4 separate regions of the Homo sapiens genome follow, and all the other regions are linked to region 1. The links are contacts of gene promoters, found by promoter capture Hi-C in blood cells and fetal thymus (Javierre and others, 2016). All regions are on one chromosome and are shown on one strand. The core of a region is centred on a gene start or on the middle of the fragment in contact, and the rest is flanking DNA. Distances in the headings are between cores, read along the strand shown.

Evidence for each region. Contacts are between HindIII fragments. The CHiCAGO score rates a contact against its expected background, and 5 or more counts as called.
Region 2: a contact is called between the fragment with the promoter of MINDY1 here and the fragment with the promoter of RPRD2 in region 1, in 1 of 17 cell types (neutrophils). The highest score is 5.0, in neutrophils.
Region 3: a fragment that was not itself captured here is called in contact with the fragment with the promoter of RPRD2 in region 1 in 1 of 17 cell types (total B cells); the score reaches 7.2 in total B cells.
Region 4: a fragment that was not itself captured here is called in contact with the fragment with the promoter of RPRD2 in region 1 in 1 of 17 cell types (activated CD4 T cells); the score reaches 5.2 in activated CD4 T cells.

The regions. Positions count from the first base shown.
Region 1 is chr1:150,361,235-150,366,992 of GRCh38, reverse strand. It overlaps RPRD2 (regulation of nuclear pre-mRNA domain containing 2), which reads right to left and starts at 2,846. Exons shown (of 11, transcript NM_015203.5): 1 at 2,074-2,846. The coding sequence starts at 2,278. RefSeq lists enhancers at 1,286-1,575, 2,059-2,338, 3,089-3,398, 3,559-3,628, 3,609-4,551. The HindIII fragment of the contact is 10,239 bases long and covers 1-4,403 here.
Region 2 is chr1:151,002,394-151,008,151 of GRCh38, reverse strand. It overlaps MINDY1 (MINDY lysine 48 deubiquitinase 1), which reads left to right and starts at 1,250. Exons shown (of 10, transcript NM_001376665.1): 1 at 1,250-1,840; 2 at 5,446-5,758. The coding sequence starts at 5,535. RefSeq lists enhancers at 1,345-1,524, 1,755-2,014. The HindIII fragment of the contact is 12,196 bases long and covers 1-3,003 here.
Region 3 is chr1:150,947,445-150,953,202 of GRCh38, reverse strand. It overlaps SETDB1 (SET domain bifurcated histone lysine methyltransferase 1), which reads right to left. Exons shown (of 22, transcript NM_001366418.1): 11 at 3,925-4,081; 12 at 3,678-3,836; 13 at 2,113-2,745; 14 at 1,722-1,838. Among named protein-coding and RNA genes, the nearest start is that of SETDB1, 24 kb to the right of the region's middle. RefSeq lists a cis regulatory region at 3,167 and an enhancer at 3,095-3,239. The HindIII fragment of the contact is 930 bases long and covers 2,618-3,547 here.
Region 4 is chr1:150,924,175-150,929,932 of GRCh38, reverse strand. SETDB1 (SET domain bifurcated histone lysine methyltransferase 1) reads right to left here and starts at 3,570. Exons shown (of 22, transcript NM_001366418.1): 1 at 3,416-3,570; 2 at 1,959-2,229. The coding sequence starts at 2,218. It overlaps LOC107985204 (a long non-coding RNA gene), which reads left to right and starts at 3,592. Exons shown (of 3, transcript XR_001738231.2): 1 at 3,592-3,673. The HindIII fragment of the contact is 3,618 bases long and covers 1-3,059 here.

The DNA.
Region 1 (5,758 bases), core at 1,597-4,096:
GTAAAAAATTCTGGCTTCATTTTATCTCATTATTGCTGACTAGAAAAAAAACTGTAATTGTCGCTTGTGATCCCACACAGCAGAGACGGGACAGGGACCAACTTATTCTTGCAAATGATGTAACCATACAGTTAAAGCCCCAGAGCCCAAGGTGAGGAAATGTAAAATGCTTGCATAGGTCAGTAAAAATGTTTTAAAATAGGGTGGAGAAGAGGTTCTCTCACTCACATTAGAACTGTTTGCAATATATCACTGGTATACCAAGAACGTTAAACATTATTTTACAAAGTTAATGATGAAGTCAAACCCTAACCCCACCATTTTACTGAGTAACCTTAAGCAACTTAATTTCCGAGTCTTAGTTTCCTCGTTTGTAAATCAGTGATTAAAAAATCTACTTCTCAGACGATTTTAAGGTACAATGAGATGACTGGGCACATAGCAGATACTTAACATGTGAGTCTTCAATGATGACTGTTATCATATTTGATGTTTTTGCACGTTATAATTTTACCTCTGGGCAAGAAAATAACTCTTTGATCGGTTATTGGTAAACACAGGTAATTCTGTCCGGTATCTACTAATTTCTCTGCATTATTATTCAAAGAACCACAAAACATCCCTCCCAAAACTTTAAACACAAATAGTTCGAAGCATGGGGCCTATAATTTTGCAAGTTTTATCTATCTGTTCTCTAAAAGGTAAACAAATCAAAACACTACAGGAGCAATGGCAGAAGTGGAATAAGGCAGAATAACTGGATGATGGGTCTCACTGGTGAAATGCCGCAGGCAGGAAGCAAAGAAAAATTCTAATAGATGTATATGGAGTATGAGTTAACCCTCTCTTCTCAGCAGGAAACAGTAACTTCTCCACACTTCCTCCTATAAGATTTGAAACGTTCTGCAAACAATCCATGCTTTAACAGAGCTCGTTTCTGCAGTAAAGCAGCAAAATGGAAAAATCTCCAGGATAAAGACAAAAAAAACATAACTGGAGAAAAAGGTACTACATATTCAAAAAGCACATTTCCTGTGCACATTACCCATGAGATCAACTCAATTGTGTAAAAAGGTATTTCAGGTAATTAAAAAGTAACGGGGCCGGGCACGGGGGGCTCACGTCTGTAATCCCTGCACTTTGGGAGGCCGAGGCAGGTGGATCACCTGAGGTCGGGAGTTCGAGACCAGCCAGGCCACAATGATGAAACCCCGTCTCTACTAAAAATACAAATAATTAGCCGGACATGGTGGCGGGCGCCTGTAATCCCGACTACTCGCGAGGCTGAGACAGGAGAATCGCTTGAACCCGGGAGGTGGAGGTTGCAGTGAGCCGAGATCGCGCCACTGCACTCCAGCCTGGGCGACAAGAGCAAAACTCCGTCTCAAAAAAAAAGAGGAACTGGACACGCTTTATATTTGAAGGTATTAACGATGATACTGACTACTGTATCGCAGTTGTTTCTGGTCAGTATCCAAGAAACCTGTATTTTATTGCAGCAAACACAGGTACAGGGAAAACCCGGTGGTGCCTCAGATCTATGTAGAGCTCATGCTGCTTCTTAACATTCATCCAGGTAAGGCTCTCCTTACTACACATCACAAGTTTTAGATACATTCATCCAGACAAGGCACTCCTCATTAAACATCACTGGATTTACTACTGCTTAAAACCACAGCTCGCCTACCATCAGGAAAGCCAGAAATCATTAACACGTCAAGGCCTGTAAGAAATAAACAGACGCTACAATTTCCGCGAAGGTTCGGAAAAATCAATACACCTTACAAGGCTCTGAAATATTAAAAACAATATACGTAAATCTCCATGGATCTGGGCCCAACGGCCCAAGGTCACAACAATTCAATGGCTAAAAAACCCAAGAAATGAGTCTCCTGCAATTCAGGACAATCCTGGCTAGGAATGGAGTCTGGGTTTGGGACCACTGGGGTCAAACCTTTAATGTGAACAACCCCAACCAAATGCTGCGGCTCCGTGGGAAAACCCCAAGCGTTTCAGGCCACACTTCCTTCCATTTCCCCAGTCTTCCCTTCCCTAGTCACCCCCAACACTCACATCTCCGGAGCCACTTCATCCAATGATAGACGATAGTACTGTGGTGTTTTTTGTTCTCTATACACCAAGACGACAAGCCTTGAATGGACTCCATGGTGTTGGTTACCGACTGGAATTTTCGATCCAACGAGGACTCCAGAGCCCCTGCCGAAGAGGCCGACGAGGAGGAGGCCTTACTGCTGCCTCCGCCGCCGCCGGCCGCCATCTTCCCGGTTTGCACAAGCGCTGCTGCTCCTCTGGCGGCGGCGGCGGCGGCGGCGGCGGGAGCGGGCAAAACAATCACTGCGAGTGCGTGAAAGCCGTAGGTGGGGAGGGAAGCTAGGGGGTGGGGATGGTGCACGCGCTGGGCTCTTCTGGAGGTACGGACGGGAACACCAGCTGCTGGGCACGCTGGCAGCTCCTACACGCTGCAAGGAGGGGCTGCGGGTCTCGGAGGTTTTATCAATATTGTTCAAGGGGTCGTGTTTAAACCAGTCAGTAATCACGGAAAAATTACGCAGAAAACAGGACCTGCAAAGCCTTTCAAAACGCCTGACGCCGAAACTAATCGTTTTATACTTTTCGGCTCTCAGTGCTAAGGCCCTTCCCCGCCCCTGTTCCCACACTCCTGTGAGCCAGGTCGGGCGTTAATATCTTAAATGTAATACTACCCGACTGCCCCTTCAGTTGCAGAAATCTTTCTTTCCTTTAGACTCGCTAGCACAGAAAAGGTCCAAGGCTACCTAGTCAGGATTTTTTTTGCAACGCAATAGCAGCAAAGGGGCAGCAACAGTATCGCGCACGCGCCACTTGGCCCCACCCCCCTACCCCTGCTTCCTTCTCAACCTTGAAAGCAGAGGGAGGCGTGATGGCGGGGCAACCTGACCAATCAGGAGTGGAGAACCACAAGCGCGCGCAGGAGCTCTGAAGCCCCCAGGGCCCAGGAGGCGCTACGATTATTTTTGCGCCTGCGCAGAAGATAAGCGTGTAACGGGATGGAAGGAAAAACTGGGAGGGATGGGTGAGGGAGCTGGTATAACTAAGGTTAGCCGGGTGGGGGGGTTCCCCTGCCCCGCCCTTTGCTGCTTTTGGCCGCTCTCTTGGGTGTGTTCAGCTCACACAACAGAGACAGAAAATTCCCACCACTGAGACCACTGTTAGTCTTCAGGGGGCTGCAGCCATCGCCCCCAACTCCTCGGAGGAGCAACGCGCGACAAAATGGCTGGCAGCCATCTTGCGGCACCACAAAAGATGCGCATGCGCCAGATCCAGTGAGCCATTCACTACGCAGACTCCGACACCAAACCGTATTTATTGCTGCCCATAGAAGATAACATTCACAGCCGCTTGACCATTTAGGTTACAGGAAAAGGAAATAAATGAGGAAGTGAAAGGAAATTTTCCTCATAAAATTTTTCGAGGCGAAAAAAGAATGGCAAGATGTGACCTCATTTTCGCCAGCTATGATACAATCTTAAAATTGCATAATACATTACAGTTTTCAAGAGTCTTACGTAACTATTATATGAACCTTATACGAACCATTTTATCGCAGGTATCTATGTAAATCCTCTGAGCTAATTTAAAGGCTCCTGTGTTCCCACTAAACATATACAGTTTTAATTCTTTTAACGTCTCCTCACTGCGGCCATGCCTCTTGAGGCAGGGAACCTGTTTTGTCAAGTTCATGTCCACTATTCATTAATTCAACGAGTTGTTGAACCTCTTGTGCCAAGTACTGTTTTAGATCATGGGGAGCAAAACAGACAAAAATCCGTTCCCTCCGGGATTTAGTGGCAGGACACCACCAACAAGTACATTTCAGACAGTATTAAATTCTGTAAAAAGGTGAAGCAGGGTAAGGGAGAAAGGGGTGTGTGTGTGTGCGCGCGTGTGTGTACGTGTGCACGGCACGCACGCGCCAGTATAAGAATGGTGGTATGGTGAACCAGGAAGTCTTCTCGAAAGAAATAACTCGATCTGAACATTGAGAAAAAAGCAACCAAGCAGATATGCGAGACGGGGAGCGGAACATGCTGGCATTAGGAACAGCAAGTGCAAAGGCTCTAAAATACAGTCTCGCTCTGTCCCTGCCAAGGCTAGAGTGCAGTGGCACTATCATATCGCACAGCAGCCTCAATCCCCCAGACTCAAGTGGTCCTCCTGCCTCAGCAGCACAAGTAGCTGGGACTACAGGCCTGCACCACCACACCTAGCTAAAAAAACAAAACAACAACAACAACATTTTTTTGAGAGGGGGAGTCTCCCTATGTTGCCCAGGCTGGTCTCAAACTCCTAGCCTCAAGCAGTCCTCCTGCTTTCAGCCTCCCGAAGTGCTGGGATTATAAGCTTGAGCCGCCATGCCTGGTCCTGACCCCACATTTTTTTTTTTTCTGTAACTCTAGCCAAAGACCCACTTTTTTATAGACTATTTTTAGAGCAGTTTTAGATTCACGGCAATTGTGTGGAAAGCACAAGGAATTCCATATACCACCTGCCCCCACACATGAATACCCTCCCCCATTATCAATGTCACGCACCAGAACGATACATCTGTTACAACTGACAAACCTACACTGACACATTATCACCCAAAGCCCATAGTTTACATTAGGGTTCGCTCTTGGTGTTATACCTTGAGTTTGGACAAATGTGCATGTATCCACCATTACAGTATCATACAGAGCAGTATCACTGCTCTAAAAACCTCTGTGTTCCACCTATTCATCCTTCCCTCCCCCTTATTCCCCTAGCGACTACTAATCTTTTTACTGTCTTCATAGTTTTGCCTTTTCCCGAATGTCATATAGGTGAAATCATTCAGTATGTAGCCTTTTCAGACTGGCTTTTTTCACTTAATAATATGCATTTCAGGCGGGGCACGGTGGCTCATGCCTGTAATCCCAGCACTTTGGGAGGCCGAGGTGGGTGGATCACGAGGTCAGGAGTTCGAGACCAGCCTGGCCAACATAGTGAAACCCCCGTCTCTACTAAAAATACAAAAATTAGCCGTGCATGGTGGCGCACGCCTGTAGTCCCAGCTACTCCGGAGGGTGAGGCAGGAGAATCACTTGAACCTGGGAGGCGGAGGTTGCAGTGAGCCAAGATCAGGCCACTGCACTCCAGCCTGGGCAACAGAATGAGATTCCACCTCAAAAAAAAAAAAAATGCATTTCAGTTTCTTCCATGTCTTTTCATGGCTTGATAGCTCATTTCATTTTAGTGCTGAATAATATTTCACTGTCCAGATGTGCCAGTTTTATTTATCCATTCACCTGAAGGACATCTTGGTTGCTTCCACATTTTTGCAAGTATGAATAAAGCTGTTACAAACATCTCTGTACAGCTTTTGGGGTGAATATATTTTCAACTCCTTGGGTAAACACGAAGGAGCACAATTGTTACATCATATGGTAAGAATATGTTTACTTTTGTAAGAAATCATCAACCTAAGGCCGGGCGCGGTGGCTCATGCCTGTAATCCCAGCACTTTGGGAGGCCGAGGCCGGTGGATCGCCCGAGGTCAAGAGTTAGAAACTGGCCAGCCTGACCAACATGGTGAAACCCCATCTCTACTAAAAATACAGGGCCAGGTGCGGTGGCTCACACCTGTAATCCCAGCACTTTGGGAGGCCAAGTGGGGTGGATCACAAGGTCAAGAATTAAAGACCAGCCTGACCAATGTGGCGAAACCCCCTCTCTACTA
Region 2 (5,758 bases), core at 1-2,500, 640 kb before region 1:
GTGACATTTTAAATGACACTTGGCAAAACAGATCATCTTCTTTCTACAAATTCTGCCCTTTACCAAACTGACTCAGTCGCCACCAATTTTGTGGTTGTTCATGTTAGGAGAACATTAGAATAATCTTTGACCCCTCTTGTTAACACCTACAGTCTCCTGCCAACTCCTGCTGCTTCTCCCTTTGCAACTCTGTAGCCTGTTTTTTTCTACAGCCTCGGCAAATATCTTCTTCCTTTCTTGGACGGTTGTAACCTTGGCTTTTTGCTCTCTGCCACCCTAATTGTTCCAATTGCTCTTTCAGCCTTTAGAGTTGCTTGAAATTTCATCCTGTGGCGGCCCTGTACATAGAGTTTAGGGAACCCTTCAGAATGTGGAGTTAGGTTCCAACCTCCCTTAACTGCCACTTTCCAGCCGCAGAGTAGTGCAGGTACTGCAAATAAATGGACACTCATCATCAAAAATTCCCTCATTTATTTATCTATCCCTTTATTTCCTACCGTCAGCCTCACACCAGCTTTTCCTGCTTCCCCAGCTGTAAATCGAGAGGAGGTGACTGATGAGAGGCCTGCAGTGGAACCAAGATCCAGAGCACAGGCGTGTTGGATCTCCTGCCTGCTCTGCCAGTTCTTTTCTTCTTCTTCTTCTTTTTGAGACGGAGTCTTGCTCCGTCTTCAGGCTGGAGTGCAGTGGCAGGATCTTGGCTCACTGCAACCTCCACCTCCCGGGTTCAAGCGATTCTCCTGCCTCAGCCTCCCGAGTAGCTGGGACTACAGGCATGTGCCACCATGCCCTGCTAATTTTTGTATTTTTAGTAGAGATGGGGTTTCACTATGTTGGCCAGGTTGGTCTTGATCTCTTGACCTTGTGATCCGCCCGCCTTGGCTTCCCAAAGTGCTGGGATTACAGGCGTCAGCCATCGCGCCCAGAGCCTGGGGCTTCTACCACACCCTCTGCACTCTACCAGGTGCACAACCCAACCAGTTTCATTTCTAGACTTAAAAATGATACAGCAAGGACTTGGAAAGGAGCTCTCTGGAGGGCTCCAGAGGGAAAAGAGCTGGGTTTGTTTGTTTGTTTTTAACATTAATTGAGTAATACATGCAAATATCGTGCTCTTTGCTCCTGCTTCTGTGGATCCAGAGCAAAGGACTGCCATACCCAGAGAGAGAGCCCAGATCCAACAAGCTGCTTCTGTCCAGCCCTTCTCCTCCCTACTTAGCAAGGGCACTTGCTCTTCCCTATTCTCACCAGAGAGGCACAAGCGCTCCGTCCCTTCTAGAGGCAGGCAGAGGGAAGAGAAAGGGTCTGTTGTTTTTCTCTCCTGTTTCTCGCTCCCTCTCTGCTGATCACAAAGCTGCTGACCGGGTCAGAAAGTCCTGATGGAAATCCACCAGCGCTGGGCAGGCCCCTCCTCCTCCAGGGAGCTTGTCCTTGCCTAATTTTTCTTCGTCCTGATGAGAACAAAAAAGAGAGAGAGAAGAAAAGAAAAACCACAAACTTCCTTTGAAAACCAGCTTGTAGTCAGGGCCCGGAGCGCATGCCATAGACTCGGCGACTCAGGAATCCTGAAGACTCTCTGAGCGACCTGGAGCACCTTGGCTGTGTCCCTGCCTGCCTTCACCCTCCTCCAGTGCCCCCAGTACTGGGCGTGAGTCCGGAAGTGGCCACAACCCAGCCTGGACCGTCGCTTATAAAGCTGTGTAAACCTGTATAAGCTCAGGCGTTGACAGCTGGAAGGCAGCTGGCACTGGCAGCCCCCTTCATTGCACCTATCTCCCCCATCTCATTGCCACGGCTGAACCCTCCTTCTCAATCTTGGAACAGCACCCCCTTCTTTAAGGTAAAAACTTTATTTTAATCATCTTCTTCACCTCTTCTCCCACCCTTCTCTATTTCCTCTCCAGCTTTGGGGAGCTGACACCTGCTGTCCTTCCACCTTTGGTCTGCAAGTCTGGATTGCTTAGAGGAGCTAAGTCAGGAGAGACATGTAAAGGGGATGCTGCTTGGTCCTCCTCCTTTTAATGAAAGCACGAAACCTTCCCCCTCTCCTTGTGAGCAAGTATACAGGGCACTGTGGCCATGGTTGACATATTCTGAGATGAAAATCTAAACTATTGATTGCACAAAGACATAGGTCAGACTAAGAAGGAGATTGGTGTGAGACAGTAAGGGAACTGTTCCTACAGAGAAGGAGTGTCTTCTTGAAGCTACATACCTGTTTTACGTGCTTCTTCCAACTTTCGGCTCTCTACTGCCATTGATTAGGGAGGAGCCAGGATTATTTTAACTCCCTCACTCACCACCATAATTCCAGCTGGAGAGAAAGTGTAGGATTTGACGAGCTAAGAAAGAGGAGGAAAAGAATGAAACTTTGATTTATCTGACTATCCTCTCCCTCATTCTTTCCTACTCTGAAATACTCCATGCCCTCCCCAGCAGGATTGGACGTTGTAGAGTAGAAAGCCTCCATTACATTTCCTGCCCCTGCCTCTTAAGACTTAGCCCATTTAGCTCTGCCCAGTTCCTCTGAGACCCCACTCCCTCAGGTGTCCACTCCTGGGTTCCTTTGGCTCACCTCTCCAGCCAGCTAGCTGCCCAACCCCCACTTCATCATTGATCATTTCTGGCACTGGAGAGAAAATATAAAAAATAAGGCCTGCTTTTCTTTTTTTTTTTTCTTTTTTTCTTTTTTTTTTTGGAGGCAAGAGTCTCACTCTTGTCACCCAGGCTGGAGTGCAGAGGCACAATCTTGGCTTACTGCAACCTCCACCTCCGGGGTTCAAGCAATTCTCCTGCCTCAGCCTCCTGAGTAGCTGGGATTACAGGTGCCCGCCACCGTGCCCGGCTAATTTTTGTATTTTTAGTAGAGATGGGGTTTCGCCATGTTAGCCAGGCCGATCTTGAGCTCCTGACCTCAGGTGATCCGCCCGCCTCGGCCTCTCAAAGTGCTGGGATACAGGTGTGAGGCACTGTGCCCGGCCAAGGCCTGCTTTTCTTCAAGCTTTTTCACTTTTCCAGGCTCTGGCATCTGCTTTGAGGTTCACCCTAAGTGTCATTTAAGGGGAGAAGGAAAGGAGAGAGAGAAAGAGAGAGAAAAAAAAGCATAAGGCCTGCAGGCAATTTTTGCTACTCTGATTCTAAATTAACAACACGTAAATGATATGCAGCTAGCATAAACATATGTGAATCAAGAGGATAATCAATTTGAGTGACTAGGCTTATTTTGTTTCAGTAACTTTAATGTTCCTCAACCTCATCTCCCAGGCCTTCCCCTAGCCCCAAATTCCTGTAGGTTTACAAGAAGGAAGCAGTCTCAGGCTGGGAGGAGGGTGGAGAAAAGACAAGATTTCTAACTAGTTTAATTTATTTTATTTTATTTTATTTTATTTTATTTTATTTTATTTTATTTTATTTTATTTTTGAGATGGAGTTTCGCTCTGTCACCCAGGCTGTAGTGCAGTGTCACCATCTCAGCTCACTGCAACCCCCTGCCTCCCAGGTTCAAGCAATTCTCCCACCTCAGCCTCCCGAGCAGCTGTGACTACAGGCACGTGCCAACACACCTGGCTAATTTTTGTACTTTCAATACAGACAGCGTTTTGCCATGTTAGCCAGGATGGTCTCGATCTCCTGACCTCAAGTAATCTGCCCGCCTCAGCCTCTCAAAGTGCTGGGATTACAGGCGTGAGCCACCGCGCCTGGCCCCTAACTAGTTTAATTTCTCCCTGTTTCTCTCCCTGATAAAGAGTGGGAGGGGAGCAAGGAGATTGAAGGGAGATGTTTTCCAAAGGGCAGGATTTGTGGTTTTTTATTATTTATACCCACAGTATTAGTTAAATGTCTATCTGTGCTTGCCTCAATGTGCCTCCAGTGCTGATAGAGAACAGGTTAAACAGGTCCGGTGTTCACATCTAAAATGACCTGGAGAGGACTGGGCACGGTGGCTCATGCCTGTAATCCCAGCACTTTGGGAGGCCAAGGTGGGAGGATCACCTGAGGTCGGAAGTTCAAGACCAGCCTGACCAACATGGAGAAACTCCATCTCTACTAAAAAATACAAAATTAGCTGGGCATGGTGTTGCATGCCTGTAATCCCAGCTACTCGGGAGGCTGAGGCAGGAGAATCACTTGAACCCAGGAGGCAGAGGTTGCAGTGAGCCGAGGTCGCACCATTGCACTCCAACCTAGGCAACAAGAGCAAAACTCTGTCTCAAAAAAATAAAAATAAATAAATAAAACCACTTGGATGGGAATAGACATAAAACTTTAGGTAGGTGAATGTACAGGAAGTATTGTTATGTAAATTAATAATCAGCATTTTCATATTTCATAGAAATAGCAGGCAAGAGAGTACCTCTGGGTTTAGGTAGTTTCTGGGGAAAAAAAATGAACTGAGGAAAAGTTGCTGTCTCAATGCTAGCTGTCAAGAGATGCTTACTGGGTCCAGGCACCGTGGCTCATGCCTGTAATCCCAGTCCTTTGGCAGGCTGAGGAGGGCGGATTGCTTGGGCCCCCAGGAGTTAAGACCAGCCTAGGCAACAAAGCAAGACCCTGTCTCAGTTTAATTAAAAGAAATTTGATATCTTTATTAATTTTTTTTAAAGAGAAGCTTACTGGAAGAACTTGTGGGGAGTGCTTTTTGTGCCCCTAATCTGAAGTTATTTATCAAAACCAGTCTCTGATTCCAGCCCCCACCACCTACATTTCCCCTCCCAGCTTACAGGAAACCCCTCCCAAGGCCTTTATACTGTGGTTTGGGATTGTGTAAGGTTCAGTAGAGCCCTTTGAGGTGGAAGACTTCCCCTTCCTCACCAGCATTTCACCTTTAGGGGCATGAAACTGACTCTCTGTGCCTCCTCCATTCTTCACCCCAAGTACTATGTGACTTAATCTTTTTATCCTTGGGTGAGGCAGAGAGAAGGTATCCCTAAACATACAAGCACTGTGTATTCTTAGTATGTTGTGTGAAGGGGCAGGGTGTGGGGTAGGGCAGAGGAATTATCTCTGTCATGGCTATGAGGGGGTTACTGATGTGATGCCTATTAGAGTAAGCTAAAGATCATCATATTAATAACCATTAGCGTAGATTTAACATTTCTTTCTCCACCTCTTATCCTTCTTTCTCCTTTGTGCTCTCCCTTTCTCTCTGTCTTTCCTCCCTTCCCTGTCATGATCTGTTTCAGGGAAGCTGACTCCACCCATGTGTTCAATCCCACCAGTCTTCCCTCCCAAGTCTGGAAGCCCCACGACCTCTTGGTCTCATCTGGTCACAGCAAGTTAGAGGTGGAAAGAGCTCAGCACGGGGCCCTTCTGTTTACACATATACTGCCCATAGCCAGGAGTTACTGCACAAACACTAGCCAGCCTTCTACACTACATTCCTTTTCCAAGACTTTTCTGGGTTAGTTTGCTTTCCAGCCCACTGATTTCCTTCTTATTGGACAGGTCACTCTTTTGCATCCCAAGCCTGGCTTAGGCAAGTCCCTGAGGTTAGTAAACACCTTCAGTGCCCCTCAGCCAAGTCCCTTTTGACCATGGAATACCATCAGCCTGAGGATCCAGCCCCTGGTAAGGCCGGGACTGCAGAAGCAGTCATCCCTGAAAACCATGAGGTTCTGGCAGGCCCAGATGAGCACCCTCAGGACACAGATGCAAGAGATGCTGATGGGGAGGCTAGAGAACGGGAGCCAGCAGACCAAGCTTTGCTGCCTAGCCAGTGTGGGGACAACCTTGAGTCCCCTCTGCCTGAAGCTAGCTC
Region 3 (5,758 bases), core at 1,833-4,332, 590 kb before region 1:
CCAGTCTGGTCTCAAACTCCAGGCCTCAAGTAATCTTTCGGCCTCACCCTCCTCAGTAGCTGTCCTCAACCTCATGCTGGTTCCACCTCCTCTGCTCAACCTTTAAATGTTGGGGCACCCAGGGCTTACTCCTGAGCCGCCTTCTCTATTATCAACATTGTCTCTAGGTGAACTTATTCAGGCTTTAAATACTCCTGTGCTGATGATTCCTAAATTTTTATATCCCACTCTCTCCAGAAATCCCAGTGTCTTCTTGACATTTCTACTTGGATTGCCTGACAGGCATTTCAAACTTTTTGTTTTGTTTTGTTTTCTGAGACTGAGTTTCGCTCTTGTTGCCCAGGCTGGAGTGCAATGGTGCGATCTTAGCTCACCACAACCTCCGCCTCCCAGATTCAAGCAATTCTCCTGCCTCAGCCTCCCGAGTAGCTGAGATTACAGGCATGCGCCACCATGCCCGGCTAATTTTTTTTTTTTGTATTTTTAGTAGAGACGGGATTTCTCCATGTTGGTCAAGGCTGGTCTTGAACTCCCGACCTCAGGTGATCCGCCCGCCTCAGCCTCCCAAAGTGCTGGGATTACAGGCGTGAGCCACTGCGCCCGGCGGCATTTCAAACTTAACATGGCCAAAACAAAAACTGAATTTCACTCAAACCTACTACTCCTTCGGTCTTCCATCTCAGTAAAAAGCACCAACAACCACTAAGATGCTCAAGCCAAAAATTTAGGAATTGTCCTTGATTCTACTCTTTCCCCCCACTCCATAATCTATCCAATTCTGTAGCTCTACCTATTAATACAGCCCAAATCTATCCTTCTTACCTCTACTATCACCTCCATTCTATTGCAAGTCATAGCTGCAACAATGTCTCTCTCTGCTGTACTCCTATAACGATCTCCTAATTGGTCTTCCAAAATCTACTTTTGCCATCCTAAGACCTATGATCTACAAAGAAGCCAGAGTAATCTGAAAAAGGCAGGTCACATCACTTGGCAGCTTAAAATCCTGTAAGAGCACCATGAATTTGATTCTAACTTTTCTTTTTTTTTTTTTAAGGCAGAGTCTCGCTCTTGTCACCCAGGCTGAAGTGCAGTGGCATGATCTTGGCTCACTGCAACCTCTGCCTCCTGGATTCAAGCGATTCTCCTGCCTCAGCCTCCCAAGTAGTTGGGACTGCAGGCACCCGCCACCACCCCCGGCTAATTTTTGTATTTTTAGTAGAGACAGGGTTTCACCAGGTTGGCCAGGCTGGTCTCAAACTCCTGACCTCAGGTGATCCACCCACCTTGGCCTCCGAAAGTGCTGGGATTACAGGTGTGAGCCACTGTGCCAGCCTGATTCTAACTTTTTTCATTCTGATTTACAAAGCCCTATGTAATCAGGTCCCTGCCTACTTCTCCTCTCTGAACACATTTCACTTACAAGTGTAAATCACAATCTGTTAAGACATTCATTTAGCTATGAAATTAAGATAATCTTTTTTTGCAACAGAAAATTGCTAGATACTATTCAATCATTCTATGTCTTCATTTCAAGGAAGGTCCAAGAAAAAAAATGTGTTTTGGAAGTCATGAAATAAGATCTAATTAATAAAATGCCTCATCTGGTATTCTATTTTTGGTTCCAATTTTTAGATTTCTGATGATTTCTATAAGCACAGAAAAACAAGAACATGCTCCTCAGTCTCTCTGAGGTACTGTGCCATTCCTTGACCACTTACCCTGTGGGTAGACACTCTTCTAGTCTCTTGTACTGGTAGCCAGAGTTAGGGTTGATTTGGCCTCCTGGGGTACAGGCTGTAGCCTGGATAGTTAGTTGATGGCAGGCACACTTGGACCTATATGACAGAGGGAAATAAAGGAAAGGAGCGGGGGGATCAGAGAACAAAAATAACACAATACACATGTACCCAAGGTTGCTCAGTGTGGCCATGTCAGACTCCAGCCTCCCTACCTCATAGCTTTCATGGAGGCCTTATAGCAGGAGTTCCAGGTGAGGGAGGAGGTAAAGGAAGATGGGGAAAGCAGTACAGATACAAGGCAAAGGAAGAGGTGAAACAGACACCATAACAAAGTTGGAAGCAGGGGCAGCAATTCCCCCCACCAACTCACTTGTCCCGACACCCATCCTTGCAGTCACAGCCAACCAGAAATTCAGGGCCTGTGTTAATGAAAACACCCTTGCCCGGGATACGTTCCTTGCTGTAGGCCACCTGGGGTGGAGGGGTTGTGTCAATCTCATTGACACAGGATAGGGGAACATCTTCCTTCCCATAAGTGATGTCCAAAATATAGTAAAAAGGCTTATAGGGCTGAAACTTTCGGTCCACAAGAACATATGGATCCAAACAGAACATCTCCAGGAAGAGGAAGTCACAGCCAGTCTCGAAAAGGTAGCGTTCTATCTCCTGCATTGTCCGAAGGCAGAGACCACAAGGTGTCTTATAGATAACATGAAAGCCCATCTTGCGGTTAACTCGACGCCGGGCTGTCATCCGCCGGAAGTCATATAGTAACGGGACCAGCAGAGGGTTCTTGCCCCGGTACTGCTCATTCCTCATAGGTCTGACTCGAGACAGACAGGTATAGCTGCAGACATGAGGTAAGTAGAAAAGCTTCTCCATGGGAGCACGGTAGGAGGGCTCTGCTGGGGCCCGCTCCAGCATGCCATGGAAGACTGGGGGTGCTGGAGGGGCCGGGAGTGCTGAGGGTGCTGGGGCAGAGGCTGTGGAGCCTAAAGGTGATCTGCAAATGAGATGCAAGTGATCAGATCGGAAGGCAACAGGACCTCTGTTTTATAATTAACCCTCCAGGTAGCTAAGCCATTTCTCTCATCTTTCAAACAGCTGTGCTCCTGAAGCTAAAGATGATTCAAGAAAGATCTTCCCTTGCCCTACCAAACCTGGACAATGAAACTCCCTGGTTACTCTTCACTGACTGATAACATCTCTATTTCTCTTTTTTTTTTTGAGACAAGTTTCGCTCTTTTTGCCTAGGCTGGAGTACAATGGCACGATCTTGGCTCACCACAACCTCTGCCTCCTGGGTTCAAGCGATTCTCCTGCCTCAGCGTCCTGAGTAGCTGGGATTACAGGCATGCGCCACCACGCCTGGCTAATTTTGTATTTTTTAGTAGAGACAGGGTTTCTCCATGTTGGCCAGGCTGGTCTCGAACTCCCGACCTCAGGTGATCCACCCGCCTCGGCCTCCCAAAGTGCTGGGATTACAGGCATGAGCCACCGCGCCCGGCCTAACATCTCTATTTCAACAGTATACCTTTTCCTAAAATGTATTTGCCTGTGAATTATGGAAGTAGAATCCAGTCTTCTACCAATGTTTTTTTGGTCTGCTGCGTGTTCTAAAAATGTCCTTACTAACTCCAAGGAAAGAGGCTGTGGTGTTTCCTTTCTATTTTAGCAATGATGGCACCATGTTCAACAAGAAGTTTTAACAAATGGCTTTCAGATGATACCATATTTCCAAGCACCCAGCTTCCAATTCAATTATTCTTACTTTCTATTTCTTAGGAACTTCTATGGGTAAAGCTTCCTTTTCAAGTCCAAACTCCTCACTATCATAAGCTTAAACTAAGCCCTTCGCTTACAGCCAAGGAACCTTCCCCTACACAGTGACCACTCATTGCTATCCTGCCTACAGAGAGCCTCAGATTTTCTCACCTATATGTCTGGTTGATCCCAGGTTTCCCACCAGAGACATTTTCACTGAGTGCAGGAGATGTAGGGGAGGAATGACCAGAGCCCACAGATCCTGGTCGAAAGGACGTGCTCTTTTTGGCTACCTGCTTCCGTGACTGGGCAAGCTGGCTTTCCAAGCTTCTAGGAGATTAGAGAAGAGGGCATATAGTAAGGGATGTGGAAAATATAATATGAAAGAAACTGAAGAAAAAGAAAGAATAACACTCACTCACTGTCACCTGCTTGGGGGGATAGAGGTGGAGCAGGTGGGAAAGGTGGGGCAGGTGGAGCTGTAGGCTGTGGGGGTTCCACTGGCTTGAACTGGGTTCCAGTACCGGTCAGATCCTGTGTGTACTGGACAACAGGGCCTTTGCTCCTCACAGCACCTATAGGAAAAAGGAAATTGAGCACTGAGAAGATGATAGCTATGACGCTTGTATTCAGTCACACATCTGATCCTTAACTTATACAATATAAAAAGGAAGCAATGGCTGGGCGCAGTGGCTCTTGCCTGTAATCCCAGCAGTTTGGGAGGCCGAAGTGGGCAGGTTGCTTGAGGTCATGAGTTTGAGACCAGCCTGGCCAACATGGTGAAACCCCGTCTCTACTAAAAATACAAAAATTAGATGGGCATGGTGGTGCACATCTGTAATTCCAGCTGCTCGGAAGGCGCAGGACAATCACTTGAAACCAGGAGGTGGAGGTTGCAGTGAGCCGAGATCACATCACTGTACTCCAGCCTGGGCAACAGAACAAGACTTCGTCTCAAAAAAAAAAAGCAGCAATGGACACATTTTGAGTAAGTGCTTAGACTCTCAGTTCCCATTATTGACTGGCATGGACGCTGGCATACATTGTTTTTTGACTTAGATAATACTTTTTCTTTTATTAAAGTGAAAGCAAGTTTATTCACAAAGTAAAGGAATAAAAGAATAACGGCCAGGCGCGGTGGCTCATGCCTTTAATCCCAGCACTTTGGGAGGCTGAGGCGGGCAGATCACCTGAGGTCAGGAGTTCAAGACCAGCCTGGCCAACATGGAGAAATCCCGTCTCTACTAACAATACAAAAATTAGCCTGGCATGGTAGCAGTCGCCTGTAACCCCAGTTACTCGGAAGGCTGAGGCAGGAGAATTGCTGGAACCCGGGAGGCGGAGGTTGCAGTGAGCTGAGATGGTGCCACTGCACTCCAGCCTGGGCAAAAGAACCAGACTCCATCTCAAAAAAAAAAAAAAAAAATTGCTACTCTGTCGGCAGAGTAGCCTCTTTTTTTTCTTTTTATAGACAGTGTTCCACTTTGTTACTCAGGCTGAAGTGCAGCGGTGTGACCTTAGCTCATTGTAACCTTGAAATCCTGGGCTTCAAGCAATCCTCCTGCCTCAGCCTCCAGAGTAGCTAAGGCTACAGGTGCACACCACCACACTCAGCATTTTTTTTTTTTAAGAGATAAGAGTCTTTCTATGTTGCCCAGACTGATCTCCAACTCCTGGCCTCAAGTGATACTCCCACCTCAGCCTCCCAAAGTGCTGAGACTACAGACACGAGCCACCATGCTGGGCCTTAGATAAGACTTTATATCTTCCTATCTCAGATGATTTACCTAATTATGTTATACTTTGGGGAAATATTTTCAGAAATATATTCTTTAACCAACTAATTTTGGCAGGAAAAATCAACCAGAAAGTATGACAGTAATATTAAAAAAGAAAACCAAATCTGTTTTTTGTTTGTTTCTGAGACAGGGTCTCGTTCTGTCACCCAGGCTGGAGTGCAGTGGCACGATCTAGCTCACTGCAACCTCGACCTCCTGGCTTCAATTGATCCTCCCACCTCAACTTCTTGAGTAGCCTGGACTACAGCTTAATGCCACTGTACCCAGCTAATTTTTGTGTTTTTTTGTAGAAACAGGGTTTCACCATGTTGCCCAGGCTGGTCTTGAATTCCTCAGCTCAAGCAAACCACCTACCTGTCTCAGCTTCCTAAAGTGTTGGGATTATAGATGTCAGCCACTGTGCCTGGCCAGGTCTGGGTTTTAAAGAAAACTGACTATACGCTGGATGTGGTA
Region 4 (5,758 bases), core at 1-2,500, 560 kb before region 1:
CAGTAGAGGAATTAAGAGATATAGAATCCATTACGATGTATATATATTTAAGTATAGACAGTCCTCAATTTAAATGGGCCACATTCCAAAGTGTCTCTGTTTAGAATTTAGAATGCTTTTTCTATAGAAAAATGTTTTAAATAGTGGTTTAGTTTCCAGACTAGTTCCTCAAAAATCCAAAGTAAGCCCAAAGTACAGTACTTTCACCCTTACCTCATTATTTACCTTGCTGTTATCTGAAAATGTATCCTGGCTGGCAGTGGTGGCTCACACCTGCAATCCCAGCAATTTGGGAGGCTGAGGCAGGTAGATCACTTGAGGTCAGGAATTTGACCTCCCCAGCCTGGCCGACATGGTAAAACTCCATCTCTACTAAAAATACAAAAATTAGCCGGGTGTGGTGGCACACGCTTGTCGTCCCAGCTACTCCGGAGGCTGAGACAGGAGAGCTGCTTGAACTCGGGAGGCGGAGGCTGCAGTGAGCCGAGATCACGTCACTGTACTCCAGCCTGGGTGAGACAGAGCAAGTCTCTGTCTAAAAAAAAAATAAAATAAAATAAAAATAAAATAAAAAAATGCTCATTATCAGTGGCCATCAGAGAAATGCAAATCAAAACCACCATGAGATACCGTCTCACACCAGTTAGAATGGCGATCATTAAAAAGTCAGGAAACAACAGGTGCTGGAGAGGATGTAGAGAAACAGGAACACTTTTACACTGTTGGTGGGACTGTAAACTTGTTCAACCATTGTGGAAGACAGTGTGGCGATTCCTCAAGGATCTAGAACTAGAAATACCATTTGACCCAGCAATCCCATTACTGGGTATATACCCAAAGGATTATAAATCATGCTGCTATAAAGACACATGCACACGTATGTTTATTGCGGCACTATCCACAATAGCAAAGACTTTAAACCAACCCAAATGTCCATCAATGATAGACTGGATTAAGAAATGTGGCACATATACACCATGGAATACTATGCAGCCATAAAAAAGGATGAGTTCATGTCCTTTGTAGGCACATGGATGAAGCTGGAAACCATCATTCTGAGCAAACTATAGCAAGGACAGAAAACCAAACACCGCACGTTCTCATTCATAGGTGGGAATTGAACAATGAGAACACCTGGACACAGGATGGGGAACGTCACATACTGGGGCCTGTCGTGGGGTGGGGGGAAGGGGGAGGGATAGTATTAGGAGATATACCTAATGTAAGTGACACCAACATGGCACATGTATACATATGTAATAAACCTGCACGTTGTGCACATATACCCTAGAACTTAAAGTATAATAAATTTAAAAACAATGTATTCTAAGTGACAACTAGAGCACCAGAAACAAATCTTTTGGGGGTATGGGAACTTACTAATGCTTCAGAGTTACGTAAGACAGAAATTCTTTACAATCCTCACTCCCTGGATGATCTTACTAGGGAAATGAAGCAATTGTTCTAAGATAGAGCACAGGAGGAAGAAGGGGAAAGGACTTAAGACTTGGACTCCCTTACTGCTGATCATGTATTAGCTGCTGACAGATGAAAATTATATTTACGGCTGATTGTAAGGTCAGATTTTTGACCATAAACTTTGAGGAAGAGTAAGGTTCTAAACATCTGTACTTCATAAAGTATAAAATGTTTGGTACACAGCCTGGCCAACATGGTGAAACCCTGTCTCTACTAAAAATATAAAAAATTAGCTGGGTGTGGTGGCGGATGCCTATAATTCCAGCTACTCGGGAGGGGGAGGTGGGAGAATCACTTGAACCCGAGAGGTGGAGGTTGCAGTGAGCCAGGATCACTCCACTGCACTCTAGCTTGGGTGACAGAGCGAGACTCCGTCTCAAAACATAAAATAAAATGCTTGGTTCAATGTCATGAACAATTATTCTCTAAAAACATCTCCCAATGGAGAGATTTCCTTCTATTTTCCATGGAGTTCTCACCTGGATGCATCATCAAAGAGTTGGTCAACGTGAGCCACCTCAGATTCTTTCTGTATTACCCATGTCTCTAACTCTGCTAGCTGCTTCTTGCGTTGCTGTACACAATCCATCTTCTCCAGTTCCTCATCGATGAAATGCCGAAGTTCCTCCATAGAGATACCCAGTTCCTCAACCACTGCCTGTTGCAGCTCTGCAATCTCTTCAGACTCCACTGTAGCTGTTGCTGCATCCAAACCAATGCACCCAGGAAGGGAAGACATGCTTTTGTCCTCTGCATGGAACAGAAAACAAATTAAATTGGAGTCCTTATAACTACAATCAATCAATAGAGAATTTCAGTTCCCTAATAAAACTAATTCCTACTCTGCTGCCTGTTATTCTATTCAAATATTCCATGTTCTCCCTCCCTATTCTCCAGAATCTGATGCTGAGATTTTTAAGAGTTCTTATCTTCTGCTGTACGCTAACACTCCTGAAAAAGATTTAAGAGTTTGAGACGGCATGGAGAACATTCATTAAGCAGTAGAGAGCTACTGAAAATAATGTTTTGGGCTGGCACAGTGGCTTACACCTGTAATCTCAGCACTTTTAGAGGCCGAGGCAGGAGGGTCGCTTGAGGGCAGGAGTTCAAGACCAGCCTGGGCAACATGGCAAGACTCGTCTTTACAAAAAAATACAAAAATTAGCCACGTGTGGTGGTGCACGCCTTTAGTTCCAGCTACTCAGGAGGCTGAAGTGGGAGGATCGCTTGAGCCCAGGAGTAGCTGCTGTAGTGAGCTATGTTCGCGCCATGCATTCCAGCTTGGGTGACAAAGTGAGACCCTGTCTCAAAACAAACCGAACTTTAAAAATAATCTTTTGGGATACTGAAGAGAACCAATCTATAAGATATTTTTGTGGTCTATATGTGTTCCTTAACTAATGTGATAAATCTTTGTATGCTATGCCTAATTTAAACAAAACCCCACCTGGGGATGGAGTTGATTTGGAACTCACTAACTCAGTGTTTTCTCTTTCATTACTTGTTCCCCTTATATTACTTTGCTTCCATGTGGAATTTTACTTTTTAAAAAGTCTATGATATTCAAACACACGAAAGCTTGCAGCAAAAAGGTTTCCCCCAAAGTACAGAGAAGTAAAGCAACCTGGGAATAAAACGTGGGTACCTAATATCCACAATCCAAATACTTCACACATTCGTGTGAACTGCTTTTTTAATCAAACGGTTAAAGAAAATCTGATTTTCAGCGCCTCCATTTTCCTCTGCCCACACACCAGCCCACCCCCGTGCTACCCATTCTAGGGGTGCGTCCTACCCATTCGCAAACCCAGTTCAGCCCCGCCCCCGTTCGCCTCTGGGGAAGACTTCCTTCCCACCCTCGCCCGACCCCCTCCCACAAACAAAACGTCCCAGATAAGCCTTTGGTCACCAAATAACTCAACAGTATTCCCCGCACCTCCCGTCTTCCAGCTTCAAGGGCTCTTTTTCACCAACCAGACCCCAGACTCACAACTCAGGGGTCGGCCTCGACGGAAAAGAGCGAAAGCGAAGGGATAAGGGAGGAGGGGGAGGGGAGGAAGCGTGAAAGAGGGAAGGGGAAGCAAAAGAAACGCCCGGAAGCAAACCTTTAGTGCCGTTCCGGTCACCGCGACGGTAGCCTGACGGGGTCAAATCCAAAGCCGCGGGGCGCCCCTCAGAGGCGACGAAAACTAAGGTAACTACGCATGCGTTAAGGCAGAGCCTTCCAGGGGCACACGTGAGAAGAGACTGGCAGGGCAGAGTAGGCGTGGCCAGTATATTACCGAGTCTCCGCCGCTCCTACCACCCTCGACTAGTGGCCCCATTACTATATTCATTGTGTAAAGACTTAGGGAAACGCTCATAGGTTCAGAGCTTTATTCTCTCAGTTTTACTTGAGTTTGTTTTGTTACATAAGTGATACAAATTGTAAAGGCTATCAAGATGTAATAAGAAAAACGTGATAATATTCTCTCTTGCCCCATCACCACTCCGCTCCTTTCAGGTAATACAGCTTCATTTTCCAGTCTTGTATGTACGAGTTTCTGTATTTGGATTTTTGTTGTTTTCATTTAACATGTGGACATTACCTGAAGCCAATAAAAAAGGTAAAACTTGTATTTTTGGCCGGGCGCGGTAGCTCACGCCTGTAATCCCAGCACTTTGGGAGTCAGAGGCGGGCGGATCACGAGGTCAGGAGATGGAGATCATCCTGGCTAACACGGTGAAACCCCGTCTGTACTAAAAATGTTAGCCGGGCGTGGTGGCGGGCGCCTGTAGTCCCAGCTACTCGGGAGGCTGAGGCAGGAGAATGGCGTGAACCCGGGAGGCGGTGCTTGCGGTGAGCGGAGATCGCGCCACTGCACTCCAGCCTGGGCGACAGAGCGAGACTCCGTCTCAAAAAAACCAAAAAAAACAAAAAAACAAAAAACCAATAACTTGTATTTTTGACACCTGAATAGTTTAGATTGTTTAGATTGTTTTCCGTTCTCAGCCCCGACAAATAGCGCAACAATAAAAATAAACATCCTTTTGAAGTAGTACTTTTATTTCTGTAGAAAAGATTCCCCAGGCCGGGCGCTTTGTGTCCGAGGCGGGAGGATTGCTAGAGCCCAGGAGTTCCAGACCAGCCTGGGCAACACGGCGAAACGCCATCTCGACTAAAAATACAAGGTAAAAAAAAAAAAAAAAAAGCCAGGCGTGGTAGTTCGCGTCTGTGGTCCCAGCAACTCCGCAGCTGAGGCGGGGGGAGGATCGCTTGAGCCCCGGTGGCAGAGGCTTCAGTGAGAGGAGATCGCGCCACTGCACTCCAGCCTAAGTGACCGAGCGAGACTCCGTCTCAAAAACAAAACAAAACAAAAAACAAAAAGAAAAGATTTCCCAAAATGGAATTTGAGTAAAATAATATGTGCTTTTTTCCTTTTTTTTTTTTTTTTTTTTTTTTTTGAGAAGGCGTTTCGTTCTATCGCCCAGGCTGGAGTGCAATGGCGCGATCTTGGCTCACTGCAACCTCCACCTCCCGGGTTCAAGCGATTCTCCTGGCTCGTCCTTCCGAGTAGCTGGGACTACAGGCGCGTGCCACCACGCCCGCCTAATTTTTTGTATTTTTAGTAGAGACGGGGTTTCACCGTGTTAGCCAGGCTGGCCTCGTCACACCTCGGCCTCCCAAAGTGCTGGGATTACATACAGGTGTGAGCCACTGCGCCGAGCCTTCCTTTTTTTGTTTGTTTGTTTGTTTTTGAGACTGAGTTTCGCTCTTGTCACCCAAGCTGGAGTGCAATGGTGCGATCTCGGCTCACTGCAACCTCCACCTCCCGGGTTCAAGCAGTTCTCCTGCCTCAGCCTCCCGAGTAGCTGGGATTACAAGCCCCTGCCACCACACCCGGCTAGTTTTTGTATTTTTGGTGGAGACGAGGTTTCGCCATGTTGGCCAGGCTGGTCTCAAACTCCTGACCTCAAGTGATCCACCCGCCTCGCCTCCCAAAGTGCTAGGATTACTTACAGGCGTGAGCCACTGCTCCCGGCCCTTTCTTTCTTTTTCTTTTCTTTTCTTTTTTTTTTTCTGAGACAGAGTCTCGCTCTGTCGCCCAGGCTGGACTGCAGTGGCACGATTTCGGCTCACTGCAACCTCCACCTCCTGGGTTCAAGCGATTCTCCTGCCTCAGCCTCCTGAGTAGTTGGGACTACAGGTGCGTGCCGCCACGCCTGGCTAATTTTTTGTATTTTTAGTAGAGACGGGGTTTCACTGTGTTAGCCAGGATGGTCTCAATTTCCTGACCTT